Regions from separate parts of the Homo sapiens genome. Here region 1 is linked to region 2. The links are contacts of gene promoters, found by promoter capture Hi-C in blood cells and fetal thymus (Javierre and others, 2016). All regions are on one chromosome and are shown on one strand. Each heading gives the region's core, a stretch centred on a gene start or on the middle of the fragment in contact. The rest is flanking DNA. Distances are from core to core; before and after follow the strand shown.

The links. Contacts are between HindIII fragments. The CHiCAGO score rates a contact against its expected background, and 5 or more counts as called.
Region 1: the fragment with the promoter of FADS1 here is called in contact with the fragment with the promoter of TMEM132A in region 2 in 1 of 17 cell types (neutrophils); the score reaches 5.2 in neutrophils.

What each region holds. Positions count from the first base shown.
Region 1 is chr11:61,815,501-61,818,910 of GRCh38, reverse strand. It overlaps FADS1 (fatty acid desaturase 1), which reads left to right and starts at 1,908. Exons shown (of 12, transcript NM_013402.7): 1 at 1,908-2,356. The coding sequence starts at 1,982. It overlaps LOC124902680 (a long non-coding RNA gene), which reads right to left and starts at 891. Exons shown (of 2, transcript XR_007062696.1): 1 at 1-891. It also overlaps a transcript of FADS2 not described here. RefSeq lists silencers at 1,547-1,646, 1,987-2,186 and an enhancer at 2,707-3,410. The HindIII fragment of the contact is 2,548 bases long and covers 342-2,889 here.
Region 2 is chr11:60,922,921-60,926,213 of GRCh38, reverse strand. It overlaps TMEM132A (transmembrane protein 132A), which reads right to left and starts at 1,754. Exons shown (of 11, transcript NM_178031.3): 1 at 1,481-1,754. The coding sequence starts at 1,580. It overlaps TMEM109 (transmembrane protein 109), which reads right to left. Exons shown (of 4, transcript NM_024092.3): 4 at 2,771-3,293. LOC124902676 (a long non-coding RNA gene) reads left to right here and starts at 817. Exons shown (of 2, transcript XR_007062688.1): 1 at 817-995. RefSeq lists silencers at 1,109-1,178, 1,219-1,438, 1,499-1,858. The HindIII fragment of the contact is 2,439 bases long and covers 1-1,951 here.

The DNA of each region.
Region 1 (3,410 bases), core at 659-3,158, 890 kb before region 2:
CGACAGAGCGAGACTCCATCTCAAAAAAAAAAAAAATCTTAAATTTCTATATAAGTTGTCAAACTATTTTTTCCAGTTTAATCAACTTACACTTCTACCAGCAGTATGAGAGCTTTTATCCCACTGCACAGTCACATAGGAAAAATGGTTTATGTAAAGGACCTCTCTTCTGTTATTTAATACCCATGAATTTCTTATATAGTTGTAATCAGCGAACCCATACTACTTTGGGTTCTGCTTATTTCACGGGGAAGGATTCTATATCTATCAATATAGTTCACATTCTAGCCATTTAAAATCATTCTTTAATTCTTCATTGTGTTAACAGATCCCAATAAGCTTGGCGATTTTCTTATTGTCAGGACTCGGGTTTATTTCCAGTTTTTGCTATTAAATTGGCTATTTCTGCATCTTTGCACAGTCTCCCCTACTTTACCAAGAGTGAAACTGCTTGATCAAAGAATAGAAAATGTTTTGTAGCTCGCATTAGACACTGCCAAGTTGTTGGGCAAGGTTTTTAAAAAAGGAATATTGGCTGTACAGAGGTGCAGCTGTGTGGACCATCATTCCTGAGCAGGGTCCAATAGCCTGGCATCTTACCTGGAAGTCAGGACATCTAAACTTCCCTATGGGAACTTGGTAAGCCCCTTCCCCATTTCGAACCTCAATTTTCTTATCTATAAAATGAAGAATTTGGATGGAATGAATTAATCCTTTTCTACCAGAAATCTAGCCATATTTCACCTAGTCTATTCTGTATCACCCTCTCCTGACTCCTACGTGCTCAGAATCTAGCTCAGTGCTTGGGACAGTTATGTTTCCTTTCCCTTTGAAGTGCCCAAATACCAGTGTAATGAGAAATATGGCAGAGCCTGAGAGTTCAGAGCACAGGCCAGGGTCAAATCTCAGCCCTCCACTTACAAGCTGTGTGACAAAATAACCTCCCCCGGGCTCAGTTTCTTCACTGTAAATTAGGTTAATTGTTCCAACCTCATAGGGTTGTTAGGAGAATTAAATGAGTTAAGGTTTGCAAAACGCTAAGAACAGTGCCTGGCACACAGTAAGTGCTTTATAAAGTGTTTGTTGAATAAATAAAATTTTGGACCTAAACTCTGGGTCTCTTCAGGACTGCAACAGCTTTGTAACTGGCAACCCCACTTTTAGGTGCGTTCCCACTCCTCTAAAACCCAGAGATCTAAATGCCAAATCTCTCTGCTTAAAAAGTCTCCCAGGGCTCCTAGGCGCCTCCAGGCTAGAACAGAAATGCCTCAGCTTGAAGACCCAGGCTTTTCAGGTGAAACACCTAAGGGTCAGGAGACGCTAGGATCATCACTCAAGGATCCCAGTGAATTTTTCCAAAATACAATAAAAATAAAAACAAAAAGAGGCAAACAGGGTTATAAAAATTGTGGGGCATTTTAAATGTTTCATTGAACAAATTAAAGCATTAACAGCCCTCCCCCAACCACCACCAAGCCCAAGAGACCGTAAATATGCTGTTCACAAGATAACTGCAACTTTCAAGGGCTCTCAGGCTGCTACTTCGGGCAGCACAATTGGCGGCACGACGTGGCAAGCAGGCAGTAGTTTCCAACCCTGGAGGGTCAGCGTCTGGAGACCCCGGCCAAGGCATCCACAGCCTAAAGATGATGTCCGCGACCGCCCGGGCAGCCTCGTGCACGGAAAAACCTCAACCCCGGCCCCGCCCACCCTTCCTGCGGCCACCCCGCAGCCCTGGCCCCTCAGTCCATTCACTCCTGCAGCGCGGCCCCGCACCCAGGGCCTGCACTAGAACCGCTGTTCCTACCGCGGCGCCCCCTGGGAGCCAACGCCGCGATGCCCGCCTGACGTCAGGAAGTCGAATCCGGCGGCGACGCCTTTAGGGAGCCCGCGAGGGGGCGCGTGTTGGCAGCCCAGCTGTGAGTTGCCCAAGACCCACCGGGGGACGGGATCTCGCTCCCCGCGCCACGAGGCTCGGCCAATGGGAACGCGCGCTGCGAGGCCCGCCGGTCTGCCCTGCGGTGCTGAAAACCCGGCGCGCAGGCGGCTGGCTCTGGGCGCGCGCCAGCAAATCCACTCCTGGAGCCCGCGGACCCCGAGCACGCGCCTGACAGCCCCTGCTGGCCCGGCGCGCGGCGTCGCCAGGCCAGCTATGGCCCCCGACCCGGTGGCCGCCGAGACCGCGGCTCAGGGACCTACCCCGCGCTACTTCACCTGGGACGAGGTGGCCCAGCGCTCAGGGTGCGAGGAGCGGTGGCTAGTGATCGACCGTAAGGTGTACAACATCAGCGAGTTCACCCGCCGGCATCCAGGGGGCTCCCGGGTCATCAGCCACTACGCCGGGCAGGATGCCACGGTGAGCGCAGCCAGGCGGGGGCACAGGAGAGGGCGGGACCGGAGGCTGAGTGCAGGGGAGACAGAGTTACGCACTCCGAGCCAAACACCGACTAATTCGGAGGAAAGCCCGGAGGCGCCTGATCATACCTGTTGCCCGGTGATTGGGTGTCCTGCGGATGCGGGATGAAAAGGCGGGAGAGAGGCCTGGAGAAGTGGAGTCTGGGGAGTGGGGATGGAGGCCAACAACACGCACACACAAACAAAGGGTCCCGCCTCCCTGCCGTGCATTCCATCTGCAGCCCCGAGCCTCAGGTCTCTGGGCGGGGACAGAACCCCGAGCTGGGTAGGCTAGGAGGGAGGAGAGCAAGGATGCAGGCCGCCTGGGGAGGGAGGGGGTCAGTGGCCAGGGGAGGGAGTCACATCCTGTCTCGATGGCTAGGAGAGGCAGCGCAGCCGCGTCTGGACCTAGGTGCCGGTCTCCACTCGCCAGCAGGAGCGGAGAGGGAGCAGGAAAGGAGCCCATTCTCGAGGATGGGGCTGAAACGGGAAGCTTGGGGAGACCGCTGCCTTGGGGACCCCTGCGTCGTGTGAAGACTGGAGGACGCGGAAGGGACAGCGCTGGCCGGGGAGGGCAAGCGGCCGCTGGCGTACATAAGGGATTGGGAATGGCATACACTTAGCGAGGACCCCCAGAGCTGTTCTCGAATCGCCGGGGAGGCCACTGAGCCGCAGGCCAGCGAGGTCTTCAGCTATTCCGCGGAGCGGACCGCTGTTTACGCTCTGGGGCGGTAGGCCCTTCGCGGGGTCCTGTCCCTTCTTCCCTTGGTCTCACTGCGGGGTCGGCGCGCGCCCCAGCCCCAGGCCTGCTGCTTCCCTTTCTAGACCACAGCCCTCAGAGCTAAGGCCCCGGCGCCTCTCTGCTGGGTTGGAGTCCTGGGGACTCAGTCCTAGGGACTCGAAAGTCGGGGCGTTCCCTTCACCGCGTTTCCCCCTTGGCGGCCAGAATGGCGTCCCCTCCCCTTGCATCCCCCTCTGATCCCGTGCCCTGCAGCGTGATGCCCTCCACTGTCCCT
Region 2 (3,293 bases), core at 505-3,004:
CACCCTGCAGGCTTCATGCCCTGGAGCGCACCTCCTCTCCTCTGCTCTGCCCGGTGGCACCTCCCTCCTCATTCAGGGCCATGAGTGAATACTGCCTCCTTCTGAAGGAAGCCCTCCTTGGTTACTCACCTTCCCACCAGTCTCCTGTCTTTTGCAACCCTGGGTGCCTCCTCTGAATTAGTAATCTTCCTATAAACAAGGGACCCTGTCTTGCTCATCCTGGAATTCCCCCAAACTAGGAAGCGCTCCCTAGAGAGGATTTCCTGGGAGCCTGGAGACCTGAATTTAAATTGATGAAACTTGGGTCAGGCATTAACATTTTGAAGCCTGTTTCCTCACTTGTAAAAGGGGCAGGAGCATTAGGTGGCACTGTGGACAGGACAGGGCTGTGTAAACTGTGGAGTGCTGTCTGGAGGGAGCAGGCATTATTGCTGCTGCATAATGGATTTGACAAGGTTTTCCTCCTCTCTCTATTAGGACTCCCATGGCGTCCCTCGGGATGGGGAGCAGGTGGCTGAAAGCAACCCCACAGCTAGCTCCCTCTCAGCCCCACAGCTGGACTGTGGGTGGGGGTGGGGGAATTGGTTTCAACCTCCTTCCTGGCCCTCCCCACCAAGGAGCATATGACTGACAGGCTCTCCCTGCCCCCTGCCCCAAGCGTAACAAGTGACCACTGCTCTCTGGGGGCAGCCACTGGCTTCAGGTTCGCCTCCTACTCCATTGCCTCCATAATTACAAGATGCTCTTAGCCTGACTCCCACGGACTCCCATCACCCAGCGCTCGGCTCTCTCGGTGGGGAGGGCAGAGAATGTTTCACTGTCCCTCTGTCTTCTGTGGCATCCTTTGCCTTGCAGCCACAGCCCAGCTAGCCCAGGCCAAGGGAGTCCGACCCCCACCCCGAAGCACAGGGAAGTTGCTGCCCTTTCCCGCAGTGACAGGAATCCTCTCAAAGGTTCTGGAAGGCAAGGATGCGGCCATCCCTGGAGACGCCAAGGTCAGGGAGCCCTGGGGGAAGGGGGAGGGAGGGCTTGCGTCTGTTGCAGGTCCCAGGCAAAGGGGCTGCTTTCCACTCCCGAGGGGGGTGGGTTGGTGGCGGCGGAAGGAGGCTAGGAGGGTGCAGCGCTACAGACCACAGTGAGGGAGTGGGGATGACGCTAGTGCGCCCGGGACCGGGGCCGCCGGGTTCGATGCCCGGGCTGAGGGGTCCCTCGCAGAAGGTGCGGGACGGGGAAGCCCCTGCGCCGGGCTGCCCCGGGTCAGGAAGGAGTTGCCGGGTCGTGCAAGGTGAAGGAAGCCTTAGGGGCGAGTGGCTGGGGGCAGGTTCCCGAGGGCAAGAACTCTCCGACCTTCAGGGCGCTGCGGGGCGACCCCGCTCAGGGTTCAGTCCGAGAACCCAAAGGTTGGTGGCTCCCGGGCATCACTCGCTCCCACTCGGCCGGGCCCGGCCGCCCCTCGCCCCGGCCCTCCCCTCCCGCTGACCTCTCACGACGTCCAGGGCGAGGGCCACCAGGAGGCAGAGCCAGGGGCCGTAGGGCCCCCGAGGGGCCGCTGTTGTGCGACCGGCCATCCGCGCGCACATCCTTCCCACAGAAGGCGGGGACGAGGCGGGCGGCTCAGGTGGCCCCAGTCCCGCACGGCATCTCCCGCACCCGCTCCGCGCCGTCCCCACCTGGCCCGCTGGGTCCCGGCCGCCGCCGCCGCCGCCGCCGCCCGCCCCGCGGCTGCAATTCCCAGACAATGGAGCGGGAGCAGTGGGGTGGGAGGGAGCGAATCGCAGCACATGGGCTGCCCCCTCCGCCCCGCCGGGTCCTAGTGCCCTACGGATCCCCAATCCCTGCGCGCTCAGGCGACCGAGGTCGGGAAGAGGGCCACGTCCCTGGAAGCAACAGAGGACGGCCGCCTCTGCCAGGAGGGACTCGGTGAGTTCTGTGTGGCTCCCTCACGGAAGCTTCTGATCAGGGAAGAAAAAGCCACTTTCTCTGCCTCACCCACCCCCACAAGCAGCTCACTTGTGAAGGCATCTGACACCTGAGTCAGAACCAGAATTCAGGGACACATGGGACGGGAGCTGCAGGGACAGGAAAGGAGGGAGGGGGTCAAACGGGGCCAGATGCCAACCACCTGAGCCTGCCCTGACAGAGCTAGGCCACCGCCGTGGAGGAAGGGCTCTAGGTGCAGGCAGCTCTAGTCTCTTGACCAGCTCCACCTGGGCAGCGTCCTGCAGCGCTTAGGAGGGTTGAGGGTTGCCCAACACTCCCGAGGGAAGGCCAGCCTCAAGGGTCCTGACCCAGTGTTGCCTACCAGGCAGTTTGGGGAGAGGCCCAGAGCAGGGGCCCCAGCTGCACACTCTCATGCCCTGGGCAGCTTACAAAGAAAAAATTATGTCTGAGGCCCTCCGCAAAATTGGTCCAGCCTGTGGGCCGACTGGAAACCTTGGCACAGGAAAGTCCTCAGGTGGGTGGTGAAGGGGAGGGCAGGCAAGTCTTCTCCAGGCTGCCCACCCACCTCAGCACACTGCAGGGAAGGGGTGACCCCTCTGCCCAGCAAGCACACGCATTTCCAGCAGTGCCAGTCGTTCCTACGTTTTGTAATGGGGGCATGCTTTCCTAATTCCTTGTGCTCCTGGAGGGAAGGGTACCTGGTACCAGCCTGCCTTTTCAGCTCTCCCCTCTGCCAGCTTCACACTGCCCCCACAGGGAGAAATTGGGAGGCGGAGCTGCACTACAGAAATGGGTTTAGCAGTAGAGGAGACATGGAAGCAATCCAGACTTGGAGTAAATACATTTTATTCAGAACAAGATAATAAAATAGCGTGCACTTTATTTAAAACCAACCAAGCACTGATAAAAAATATATATCACTGCAGCTGTGATTCCACATCAAACCTGAACAGTAAGAATTGGGCATTTATTCTTCACATCATGTGCCAAGCCTGGCAGAGAAGGACATCCACCTCCACTAGAGCCTCAAAGGAAAAGTGGCCCCTAACCACCAAGACAGGGTACCCTGGTGGAGAGGGGCAGCTGGCAGCTCACCCTGCTCTCTGCAGACCACGTGAAGGGAAAGGAGCTGCCTGTGTTCCTCCCGGGCTGCCGGGGTGGGCACTGGTCAGCAACTCCTTCTCGGTTTCAGGTTGTGGAGCGATGGGGAGAGAAGTGCATGCAGTTGTGCAGACAAGGAGGCGGGTCCTCCCTCCTCTTTCAGGGTCTCTGAAACCCCCACAGGGCATATAATGCCCAGCAAGGTCCCACTTGCAGGCACATGCCTACAAAGCAGCAGCCATCTTTTGCTT